2 separate regions of the Homo sapiens genome follow, and region 2 is linked to region 1. The links are contacts of gene promoters, found by promoter capture Hi-C in human tissues and cell types (Jung and others, 2019). All regions are on one chromosome and are shown on one strand. Each heading gives the region's core, a stretch centred on a gene start or on the middle of the fragment in contact. The rest is flanking DNA. Distances are from core to core; before and after follow the strand shown.

The links. Contacts are between HindIII fragments. The study calls those that stand out against the background at their distance.
Region 2: a fragment that was not itself captured here is called in contact with the fragment with the promoter of PPIC in region 1 in 1 of the 25 tissues and cell types used here (lymphoblastoid cells).

The regions. Positions count from the first base shown.
Region 1 is chr5:123,034,822-123,041,367 of GRCh38, reverse strand. PPIC (peptidylprolyl isomerase C) reads left to right here and starts at 4,643. Exons shown (of 5, transcript NM_000943.5): 1 at 4,643-4,859. The coding sequence starts at 4,743. PPIC-AS1 (PPIC antisense RNA 1) reads right to left here and starts at 5,446. Exons shown (of 2, transcript XR_001742868.2): 1 at 5,080-5,446. RefSeq lists silencers at 4,417-4,466, 5,775-5,947. The HindIII fragment of the contact is 11,652 bases long and covers 1-6,546 here.
Region 2 is chr5:123,627,076-123,633,420 of GRCh38, reverse strand. No RefSeq gene overlaps it. Among named protein-coding and RNA genes, the nearest start is that of CSNK1G3, 120 kb to the right of the region's middle. RefSeq lists an enhancer at 4,065-4,566. The HindIII fragment of the contact is 3,840 bases long and covers 2,421-6,260 here.

The sequences.
Region 1 (6,546 bases), core at 3,394-5,893:
AAGGATAGAGATATGAATTGATCTAATGAACACATATGTAGAATACTATATCTAACGAGGGCAGAATCAAATAAATTGTTCAGATCCTATGTGATAATGCAAGTCTCTACATATTTTAAAAGAATGAAATAATACAGAATATGTTCTCTGACCACAATACAACTAAGTTAGAAATCACTAACAAAAGGATTTTTTAAAAATCATGTTTGGAAATAAAGTACTATACCTTTATATAACACATGGGTCAAAAAAGAAATAAAAATATAAGTTAGAAATTATTTTCAAAGAATAATGAAAATATGACATATCAAAACGTTCAAGAAGTGCAAGGGGAACTTTATCATTTTAACTGTATACAGAGTACTATATAAAAAAAGGAAGGGCTTTAAAAATTGATGAGTTAAGAGTCTATCCAAGAAGACAGAAAAATAACAGTAAATTAAACTCAAAGAAAGCAGAGAGAAGGAAATAATAAAGTTAGAACATAAATTAATAAGATAAAATATATTGGATTCATCAGCTTCCTTGGTGAAACTGTTCAAGGAAAACAAGAAAAGAAACAACCAATGTCAGGAATGAAAAAGAAGACATTACTACAGGTCCCGCAGACCTACAAAATCATTAAAAAATGTTTTAAACAACTTTATAAAACAATATTTTAAAATATAAATAAAATGGATATATTCCTTGAAAAATACTTCAAGTAAAGGAACAGAATAGAGAATTTGAATAATCTCCAACTATTTTAAAAGTTAAATATATAATTTAGAATGTTACAATAAAGAAAACTCCAGGCTCAGATGGCTTCTAAGAAACATTCAAGGAAGAAATGGTAATCTTACACAAACCCTTTAAGAGTAGGGGAAAAACAGCTACCATTTGCCAACTCATATTAAGAGGCCAGAACAACTCTAATACAAAAGCTGAGAGGAAACTCCAATAAAGGAAAATTTCAGGCTAGTCTCATTCAAGAATTTAGATGCAAATATCCTGAAAATAAGATTAGCAGATTTACCCACTAACACTGAAATGACATGTGGGTGACGAACTCAGTCTCAGCTGGACAGCCAGAGCCACATTTTACCCACTCTTTTCTTCCTGAACTTCAGAAGATAGTCTATATTCAGTTTTTGGCAACTTTGTTAATAAACTGATATTGCCAAACCACATCTAGTAATATATAAAAAGGATAATCCATGTTGGACACATTCCAGAATGTAAGCTTGGGTTAAGATTTGAAAATCAATGCAATTCATCACATTAACAGAGTAAGAGAATCACATAATTATTTCAATTGATTTCAATAGATGATGTTAATAAAATTTAAATCAAATATATGCTAAAAACTCTTAGCAAACAAGGACTAGAAAGGAATTTTCTGAATCTGAAAAAAGATATCCCCCAAAAGGACCTTCAGCAAATATCATGCCTAATGGTGAAACACTGAAGCTTTCCCTCTGACACTGGGACCAAGACAAGGTGTATGAGCCCCCTAGGGCTGCTGTAACAAAGTGCCACAAACTGGGTGACTTCAAACAAGAGAAATGCATTGTCTCACAGTTCTGGAAACTAGCAGCTGAGATCAAGGTGTTGGCAAGGCCATGCTGTCTTTGAAGGCTCTAGGGGCAAATCCTTCCTTGCCTCTTCCTAGCTTCTGGGGGTTGCCAGCAATCTTTGGCATCCCTTGTCTTGTAGATACAGCACTCCAATCTCTGCCTCCATCCTCATATGGTGTTCTCTGTGCGTGTGTCTGTGTCTGTTCCCTTTTTATGAGGACACAAGTCATATTAGAGTAGGGCAAACCCTACTCCAGTATGATTTCATCTTAACTTGATTACGTCTGCAAAGGCAGTCCAAATAAGGTCACATTCACAGATACCAAGGTTTAGGACTTCAATATATCTTTTTGGAGGATAATTCAGTCTACAATACAAGGACTCCCACTGTTGCCACTTCCTTTTGTACTGCAGATCCCAGCCAGTGTAAAAAGGCCAAAAAAGAAATACAAAATGTAAAGATTAGAAAAGAAGAAATAAAACTGTCATTATTCATGGATGACATAATTGTCTATGGAGAAAATCCTAAACAATTCACAGATAAATTATTAGAATATGTTTAACAAGGTTGGTATATACAAAGTTAATATATAAATTAATTTTACTACAATACATGACAATAGCATAAAAAAACACTTAGAAATCAAACTAATAAAATACGTGTAAGACCTCTGGGCAGAAAGCTATAAAATCTTATTGAGAGAAACCAAAGAAGACTTAAATATGCTATGTTCATGAATTAGAAGACTCAATATTGTAAATTTGCCAAGTCTTAAATGGTCTACAGATGCAGTGCAATCCCCATCAAAATCTCAGTGTGTGGAAACTGACAGGCTGATTCTCAAGTTATATGGACATGGAAAAGCTCAAGAACAGCCAAGAATTTGTTGAACAAAGCTAAGAGGGTATGTATTACTGAATATGAAGAGTTATTATAAAGCTATTTTAATGAAGACAATGTAGTATTGGCACAAAGACAGACAAATAGGCCAATGGGACAGATAGGGTGCCCACAAACACACCTATGCATACATGGGCACTTGCTCTGTGACAGAAGAACAGTATGGAGCGGTGAGTTAAAGGGGAGAATTTTCAATAAACTGTACTGAAATAAATGAATATTCTTATGAAAAAAATGAATTTGCTTCCTACTTTGTATTAGCCACCAAAATAGTTATATGCAAAAATATAGATGAATTTCACAAAAATTTAAGCAAAAAGAAATACATACGGTAATACCCTATTCAAATAAAATTAAAACAAAATTAAACTATAGTACAAGAAAAGTCAGGATTGCAGTTAATTTGGGCAGAAAAAAGTGTTTGTAACTGGCAGAGGGTATAAGAGGAGTTTCTAGGGAGCTGGGAAAGATTTCATTTCTTTGCCTAGAGGGTGAGATGGTGGTAGCATAAAAAGTAGTTGGACACATTCATTCATTCAACAAATAGTTATTGAGAAATCACTATATATCAGGCATTGCACTAGATCTGGGTCATCAAAGGGGAATAAATATAGGCCTGATCCCTGCCCTGGCCCTGCTTACTTCTGATAGCAGACAGACAAAAACAATTAATGAACACAGATAAATATATACAATCACCTCACAGTCACCTCGTAGGGTAAGTGCTCTGAGAGATACCCTTGTCTTGCTACACAAGGGGGACTCTTTCCTTATTGGGGGTGGGGATGAAGAGGAAAGCCATTAGGTCTTTCACTGGACTGAATCATAAAAATAGCTCAGAATTGCATTTCTCCTTTTTCTCACCCCAAAGAAGTAGTGGTTACTCCTTTTATCTCTAATGGTTCCAATGTCATTTTAGATCTACACTTAGGTACACCTAGGAATCCCATCTGACATTTAGAAATTCCATCTCTTAATCCGAGGAAAATCTTGGCTTGAAAGTAATGGCACCAGCCCCTTAAAATGGCACCTATGTGCGAATACCACTAATTTTTAGTTAATTTTAGGGCTGTTACTCTAAAACAAAAAAGTTCTTTTGAAATTCTAATTCAAAAAGCAATGAGTTTTAAAATAACCCTTTCCATGTTATAAAATACTTATATGCTCATTGTAGAACATCTGGGAAATCAGAAAACTGTAAAAAAAATTTTTTTAAACCCTCAAAAATCCATAAGTCTATCAATAGCTATCAATTCTATCTATAGCTACTGTAAACGTTGTGGTACATCTCTTTCAATATTTAAGTGCCTTGATATATTTATTTTCACGGTTGAGATCAGAATTTGTGGTTTTGCAACCCGAATTTTCCATTTAAAAATATAATAAGAACTTACTTCCCCAGTCATTAATCTTCCTAAACATAATTCTTAAGTTTGTAAAAAATCCATCCTACAGATACACCTAAAAGTCAGTTTATTTACTTTGTTTCCCCAGGAAAGAATCCTACATGACCATGGTTCTGGGCCTGTGTAAGTGCTGCCTTGTGAACAGTGTAGATAAGATCACAGAATCATCCTCCAAATAAAGTACTTAAAGCCAATGTAAAAGTTTTTCGAAGGCAAAGGGGCACTGTGAATCCAGCATTTTCCAGTGTTCCCTAGACGTGAATCATCTCAAAGAGAGGCCATTATTCGAGTGCAACAGGGCTCCACGCCTCCAGCGATGTCAAAGTTCTGCTAAGCGTCCAAAACCTAGCAAAAGGTTCCAATGGGCCATTGGAACTCGGCGGCCGCGGCGGAGGCTGCTCCCAAGGCGGCAGCAATCACACCGGGACCGGCTGCAGAGTTCCCAGTCCCGCGGAGCGCTAGCTGCCGGGCGGACGCGGAAGCCCGAGAGTCCTGGTCTTCCCGTCCAAGTTTAATCCGCGCCTACGCGGTAAATTCCTGGAGGTGCTCCCAGCCTAGCCCGCTGCGCCCGGCTCCGCGCCTGGGCAACCCGGGCTCCCTCCCGTCCCTGGCGCCCTCCGCACCCGCCTAAGGCGCGGCGGTCGAGCCCTGGCTGCGCCCTGTGGGCGCGCTCCTCCGAATCCCAAGTTCGGGTCGCGAGTCTGAACTTGGGAGGAACGCGCCCCGGGTCCCCGCCCTTCCCGGACTGCCCGATCCCCATCCCCCGCAACCGGGAGCGCGCAGGCGCAGCCGGCCGGCAGTCCCGTCAGCTGTCCCAGAGCCTGTGTCGCGCCCGTGCCGGTAGCGCCCGTGCCGGTAGCGCCGCTGCCACCGCTCACCATGGGCCCGGGTCCTCGGCTGCTGCTACCTCTCGTGCTTTGCGTGGGGCTCGGCGCACTTGTGTTTTCTTCGGGGGCCGAGGGCTTCCGCAAGCGAGGCCCCTCGGTGACGGCCAAGGTGACCGAGAGCGGCGGGCTGCAACTTCCCCTGTTGCGGGCGGGGCCCTGGGGGCGCTTTGGATACTGGGACCTCGGTGTCAGGGCGGGCGAGGTGGAGGCTTCCCGGGCGCAGGGGGACTGGAGGCGGCCGCGGGACTGGGTGGGAGGGGGCTGCTCGCGTGCTGGGAGGCCGGCGCTCCGGGGGAGACCCTGGGGGAGCTGGGCTGAGGCCAGCCTACCTCCGCCGCAGTCTGCTTGGACTTCTTGTCCCGGGTCGGTAGTCCGAGGTGACCAGCCTGGGGGTAGGAGAGGCTTCCGGAACCGGCGGGCCCGTTCTCCAGGAAAGAGACTGCCCAAGTACTTCCTTCAGCGTGGCCTGGGCTCGGGAGCAGAACGAGAGGAATGCGGGGAGGGGGGCGGGACCCGCACAGGAGAGGCGCTCGGAGCCCAGGGCTTGCAGCCGCCCGCCCGCTGCGTGGTCTCCACGCTGGCCGCGGTGGCTTCAGGCAGGCATTAAAGCGCCTGGTTCAGATGAGAGACTACCCTCCGCCTCTTTTGGGGAACCGTCGTCCTTCCCGGGAAGGGGAGGTGCGCCTTCAACTTCGGCGGGCGGGCGGCCCCTGCTGTGGGCTACGCGAGGCCGGGCGAAGGCGGCACCTGTAGACCTGGGGCAGCCTCCACTGCGGGGAAAGGGGGCGGGGGGCTGCCAGAAAGTGCGTCTTTAAGGCTTCCTCGTACTTAACTCCGCTTCAGTTCTTTTTTCAGCGTATTTAACCAAGGGTAGACGATAATGGGAGAATGCAGGGAGAGGGAGGGGATAATTTGGTGCCCATGATCACCACTTCTAGAAAACCCACTGGCAATAGTGTCTTCGAAGCTGAAGCTGGAGGGGGCGGGCTGCAGCTGAAAGTGGTCTTCATCAGTCTGGGGTTTGTCAATGGAAACGATACTAATCAACGAGTAGAATGCTTACATCCTCGACCGCAGACGCCACCTGAGGACGGGGAGGACTAGGGGGTGGGGAGGAGGAGGTCCAGCTCAGCATCTGATGTCGCAGAAAGGCCGTGCCACGTTGTGGGCGGGGCTGATAAACAGCCTGATGGTTTCGAGAAGCTCTGATCTTACTCCCAGCCTCTTGATCTTGTAGGCATGTCTAACTTTGGGAAATGGTTTGTGCAAGGCCACAGAGCTGAACGGGGTCTCTTGGGATAAAGCCATAAACATAAAATTCGCACAATTATGAAATGTTGGAGGAAATAAACTGTAATATACTTTGGGTGACATTTAAAAATAGCTGAAAAATGAGAAAAACCAGCGCAGAGAAGACTAAGGAGGCAAAGGGAACTGCATATGCATAGGTCCTCAAACAGGAAAGCCCTCCCTGCATTCAGAGGATGTGGAGAGGACGGAATGGCTTCAGCACAGAATGAGAGGTGACTTGAGATGAGGTTGGAGGGGTGAGCAGCAGCGGAATCACACAGGGCCTTAGAGGCTGCAGGTAGGCATGCGGGTATTGAGGCAATTCTTAAAATTTGAAGTGTTATTCTGCAGTCAGAGCCACTGAAGGGTTTTAAGCATAAGAATGGCATGATCTCAATATATACTCGAGAAATTTATGTGGTCACTCAGTGGAGAGTGAAATGGGAGGTCATTCAGGGCACCATGCCAGAGTCCAGATGGTGGCTTGGATTAGGGTGGTAATCATT
Region 2 (6,345 bases), core at 3,091-5,590, 590 kb before region 1:
ATGCCTCCAGCTTTCTTCTTTTTGGTTAGGATTGCCTTGGCTATTTGGGCTCTTTTTTGTTTCAATACGAATTTTTAAATAATTTTTTCTAGTTCTGTGAAGAATGTCATTGGTAGTTTAATAGGAATAGCACTGAATCTTTATATTGCTTTGGGTAGTATAGCCACACTTTAATGATACTGATTCTTTCTATCAATTTGTATGAAATGTTTTCCATTGTTTGTGCCATCCCTGATTTCTTTGAACCGTGTTTTGTAGTTCTTATTATAGAGATCTTATTAGCTGAATTCCTGGGTATTTTACTCTTTCTGAGGCAATTGAGAATGGGAACACATTCCTGATTTGGCTCTTGGGTTAGCCGTTGTTGGTGTAGGAATGACAGTGGCTTTTTTCTTTTGACTTTGTACCCTGCAAGCTTAAGGAACCATTTGGCCAAGACTACGTGGTTTTCTAGATCTAGAGTCATGCCATCTACAAATAAGGATAGTTTGACTTCCTCTCTTCCTATGTGGCTGCCCTTTATTTCATTCACTTGCCTAATTGCTCTGGCCAGGACTTCCAATACTATATTAAATAGGAATGGTAAGAGAGGGCAACCTTGTCTCGTGCCAGTTTTTAAGGGAATGCTTCCAGCTTTTGCCCATTCAGTATGATGTTGCTGTGGGTTTGTCATAGATGGCTGTTATTATTTTGAGGTCTGCTCCTTCAAAATCTAGCTTACTGAGAGTTTTTAATATAAAGGATGTTGAATTTTATTGAAAGCCTTTTCTGCATCTATTCAAATAATTCTGTGGTTTTTGTCTTTAGTTCTGTTTAATTAATGTATCGCATTTACTGGTTTGCTTATGTTGAACCAACCTTGCTCCCAGGGATAAAGCCTACTTGATCATGCTGGATAAGCTTTTTGATGTGCTGCTGGATTTGATTTTCCAGTATTTTGTTGAGGATTTTTACATCAATGTTCACCAAGGATATTGGCCTAAGTTTCCTTTTTTTTGTTGTCTCTGCCAGGTTTTGGAATCAGGATGATGCTGGCCTTATAGAACAAGTTAGGGAGGAGTCTGTCCTCCTCAATCTTTTGGAACAGTTTCAGTAGGAATCATACCAGCTCTTCTTTGTACATCTGGTAGAATTCAGCTGTGGATCATCTGATCCTGGGCTTTCTTTGGTTGGTAGGCCATTTATTACTGATTCAATTTGGAGCTCATTACTGATCTGTTCAGGGATTCAATTTCTTCCTGGTTCAGTCTTGGGAGGGCGTATGTGTCCAGGAATTTATCCATTTCTTATAGATTTTCTAGTTTGTGTGCATAGACCTATTCATAATATTCCCTGATGATTATTTGTATTTCTGTGGGGTCGGTGGTAATATCCCTTTTGTCATTTCTAATTGTGTTTATTTGGATTGTCTCTATTCTTTATTAATCTAGCTACTGATCTATATATTTTTGTTAATTTTTTCAAAAAACAGACTCCTAGATTTGTTTATCTTATGAATGTTTTTTCATGTCTCAATCTTCTTCAGTTCAACTCTGATTTTGGTTATTCCTTGTTTTCTACTAGTTTGGGATTGGTTTTCTCTTGCTTCTCTAGTTTTTTTAAGTGATGTTAGGTTGTTCATATAAGATCTTTCTAACTTTTTTGGGGGGCCTTTAATGCTATAAATTTCCTGCTTAACACTGCCTTAGCTGTGTTCCAGAGATTCTGGTATGTTGTATATTCATTCTCATTAGTTTCAAAGAACTTTTAGATTTCTGCCTTAATTTCAGTATTTACCTAAAAGTCATTCAGGAGCAGGTTATTTAATTTTCATGTAATTGTATGCTTTTGAGTAATTCTCTTAGTCTTGAACTCTAATTTTATTGTGCTGTGGTCCAAAAGAGTGTTTTTCATTATTTCAGTTATTATGCACTCGCTGTAGAGTGTTTTGTGTCTGACTGTGTGGTCAGTTTTAGAATATGTGCCATGTGGTGATGAGAAGAATGTATATTCTGCTGTTTTGGGGTGGAGAGTTCTGTAGAACTCATTTATCACATCCATTTGATCCAGTGCTGAGTTCAGGTCCTGAAGATCTTTGTTAATTTTCTGCCTCAATGATTTGTCTGTTACTTTTGGTGGGGTGTTGAAGTCTTCAATGATTTATTGTGTGGAAGGCTAGGTCTCTGTAGGTCCCTAAGAACTTGCTTTATGAATCTGGGTGCTCCTGTGTTGAGTGAATATATATTTAGGATAGTTAGCTCTTCTTGATGAATTGAACATTTTGCCATTACGTAATGCCCTTCTTTGTCTTTTTTTTATCTTTGCTGGTTTAAAGTCTCTTTTGTCAGAAACTAGGATTGCAACCCCTGCTTTTTTCTGATTTCCGTTTGCTTGGTAGATTTTCCTCCATCCCTTTATTTTGAACCTATGGCTGTCATTATGTGTGAGATGGGTCTGTTGAAGACAGCATATCATTGGGTATTGCTTTTTTTATCCAGCTTGCCTCTCTGTGTCTTTTAATTGGGGCATTTAGCCCATTTACATTCAAGGTTAGTATTGATATGTGTAGCTTTGACCCTGTCATGTATTGTTAGCTGGTTATTATGCTGGTTTGTTTGTGATTGCTTTATTGTGTCACTGGTCTGTGTACTTAAGTGTGTTTTTGTACTGGTTGATAACAGTTTTTCCTTTCCATATTTATTGCTTCCTTTAGGAGCTCTTGTAAGGCAGGTCTGGTGGTAATAAATTCCCTCAGCATTTGCTTGTCTGAAAAGAATCTTATTTCTCCTTTGCTTACAAAGTTTAGTTTGGCCGATATAAAATTCTTGGCTGGAATTTCTTTTCTTTAACAATGTTGAATATTGGCCCCCAATCTCTTTTGGGTTGTAGGGTTGCTGCTGAGAGGTCTGCTGTTAGTCTGATGGGCTTCCTTTTCTAGGTGACCTGACCTTTCTCTCTAGCTGCCTGTAACATTTTTTCTTTCATTCTGACATTGGAGAATTTGATGATTACATGTCTTGAGTATGATCTTCTTGTGACTTATCTTACTAGGCTTCTCTGCATTTCCTGAATTTGAAGTTTGGCCTCTCTAGCTAGTTTGGGGAAGTCCTCATGGCTGATTTCCTGAAATACATTTTTCAAGTTGCTTCCATTCTCCCCATTTCTTTCAGGCACACCAGTGAGTTATAGATTTGATCTCTTTACATAATCCCATATTTCTTGAAGGTAATGTTCATTTCTTTTAATTCTTTTTCTCTGTTATTGTCTGTCTTATTTCAGAGAGCCAATCTTCAAGCTCTGATATTCTTTCTTTATTTTAGTCTATTCTGCCACTAATACTTGTAATTGCATTATAAAATTCTTGTAGTGTGTTTTTCAGCTCTAACAAGTCAATTACATTCTTTTCTATACTGGCTATTTTGTCTATCAGCTCCTGTATCATTTTATTGTGATTCTTAGCTTCCTTGGATTGGGTTTCAACATGCTGCTGCATCTCAGTGATCTTTATTTGTATCCTTATTTTGAATTCTATTTCTGTCATTTCAGCCATCTCAGTTCAGTTCTGAATCTTTGCTGGAGACCTAGTGTGGTTGTTAGGAGGAAAGATAGCACTCTGGTTTTTTAAGTTGTCAGAATGCTTGAGCTGGTTCTTTCTCATCTTCCTGGGCTGATGCTCCTTCAGTCTTTAAAGTCGCTGTCCTTTTATCCTATTTGATGAACTAGAGAATTTGATTGTGGTGTAAGATGGTTTCAGTCAGCTGGTTTCATTTATGGAAGATTTAAAGGAGCCATGGCTCAGCTCACAACTCCTGGACTGCATGCTCTAACTCTGGGGAACTGTTATCAGTCCCGAGAATTTGTTCTCTGGCTTCTTGGGATTAGGAAATCACTGCACTGGCAGTGCCGCAGTGCTCCGGGACCACTGTGTCACAGCACTCTGATGGATGGTGCCACTCAAAGCTTTTTGTATGGTGGCAGCAGCAGGATCTGTTCTCATTTGCATGTGCCAGCAGCAGTGGCAGCAGCAGCAGCAGAGCAGGGTGGACTTCTTCTCCGCTGTGGCAGGGTACTGGCGGGTGCTGGGTGCTGGCCTCTGAGAAGGCATTCACAGTAGCAATGGAGGCAGCATGGCTGAGGGTACCTCTGGCAACTATGTGCACAGTGGTGCTGGTGGTGTGGTTAGCACAGGGGGCAGGGTGCTGGTGGGCATAGGACTGGGCGCACCCTCCATGAGCATTCACCCAGGTGGAGATGGCTGCTCAGGGTGGGGAAAGGCCCACTCTTCTCTGTGCCTAGTTTCACTCCCATGGCAGTGTTGTCACAGGGGTGGGGTGCTGGTGGGGGCGGGGGTGCGGCTGGCAGGCTCTGTGCCTGCCAAGGCTTTAACTGCAATGGAGACTTGGCGGGGCTGGGGTGGCCGGGAGCCGGGGGATGGAATGTACTCATGCTAGCATTTCTTCTTGATTATCCAGTTTGTTGGGGGTATAATTGTCCATAATAGCCTTATAATCCTTTATATTTCTGTGTTATCAGTTTTAATGTCTCCTTTTTCCTCTCTGATTTGAGTCTTCTTTTTTTCTTAGTCCAACTGGCAGGTTTATTAATTTCATCTTTTTTCAAAAAAAAAAACCAACACTTTGTTTTTTCATCCTTTCTATTGTTTTTCTAGTCTCTATTTTATTTATTTCTGCTCTGATGTTTATTATTTCCTTCCGTCTACTAATTTTGGGCTTAGTTTATTCTTTTTTCAAGACCTCGAAGTAAAATATTAGGTTGTTTACTTGAGATCTTCTTTTTTGATGTAGGTGTTTATTGCTATAAACTTCCATCTTAGAAGTGCTTTTGCTGCATCCCAGAAGTTTTAGTATGCTGTGTTTCCATTTTCATTCGCCTGAATACATTTTTTAATTTTACTTGTAATTTCTTCGTTGACCCATTGGTTGTTCAAGATGTTCAATTTTCATGTGTTTGTGAATTTTTCAGAGTTCTTCCTGTTATTTTTAGTTTTGTATCACTGTGGTCAGAAAAGATACTTGATATGATTTCAATCTTCTTAAATTTGTTAAGACTTGTTTTGTGACCTAACGCATGATCTAGCCTAGATAATGTTCCATGTGCACTTTAGAAGAATGTAAATTCTGCAACTCTTGAATGAAATGCTCTGTATACATCTGTTAGGTCTATTTGGTCTAAAGCAGAGTTTGAGTCCAATGTCTCAATGCTAATTTTCTGTCTGGATGATTTTTCCATTGCTGAAAGTGGGGTGTTAATGTCCTATACTGCTACTGTACATACTATTATTGTCTATTTCTCCCTTTAAATCTGTTAATACATGTGTTGTATATTTAGGTGCTCTAATGTTGGGTGCATATATATTTATAATTGTCATATCATATCCTCCTGCAGCATTAAGCCCTTTATCATTATATAATGGCCTTTTTCATCTTATTTTACAGTTTTTTACTTAAAGCCTATTTTGTCTAATACTCATGTAATACACATCTAATACTTTTGATTTCCATGTGCATGTAATATCTTTTTTCATCCCTTCTTTCAGTCTATGTGTGTCCTTACAGCTGAGGTGAGTCTCTCATTGGCAGCATATACTTAGGTCTCTTCTTTTTAAAAATCCATTTAGCCATTCTGTGTCTTCTGATTGGATAATTTAACATATTTACATTCAAGGTAATTATTGATAGATGAGGACTTAACCACTGCCCTTTCACTTATTGTTTTCTAGTTGTTCTGTAGATTCTTTGTTCCTTTCATTCTCTTTTACTGTCTTCCTTTATGATTAAGTGTTTTTCTCTAGTAGTATGTTTTCATTCCTTGTTTTTTGCGCACATCTACTATAGGTTTTCACTTTGTGGTCACAATGAGGCTTACCAAAAAAAATCTTATAATCAAAACAAGATATTTTAAGGTGATAACAAATTAACTTCAATTAAAAAAAAACTTTACTTTTACTCCACTACCCCTGACTCTGAGTTTTATCATAATTTACATCTTTCTTGTGTTCAACATCCCTTAACAAATTATCATATTTATTTTTAATAGTTTGTCTTTTAATCTTCACACTAAAGGTACAAGTGATCTTTTTTTACCATGATTACAGTATAATAATATTCCAAATATGATTGTGTCCCTGCTTTTACTAGTGAGTTTTATACTCTCAGATGTTTTCATGTTACTCATTAGCATCCTTTTCTTTCAGCTTGAAGAACTGTCTTTAGCATTTCTTGTAAGACAGGTCTGGTGATGATAAACTTCAGCTTTTTTGTGTGTGGGAAAGTGTTTCTCTTTTTCTCTTTCATTTCTTTCTTTTTTTTTTTTTTTTTTTTTTTTTGAGACAGGGTCTCATGCTGT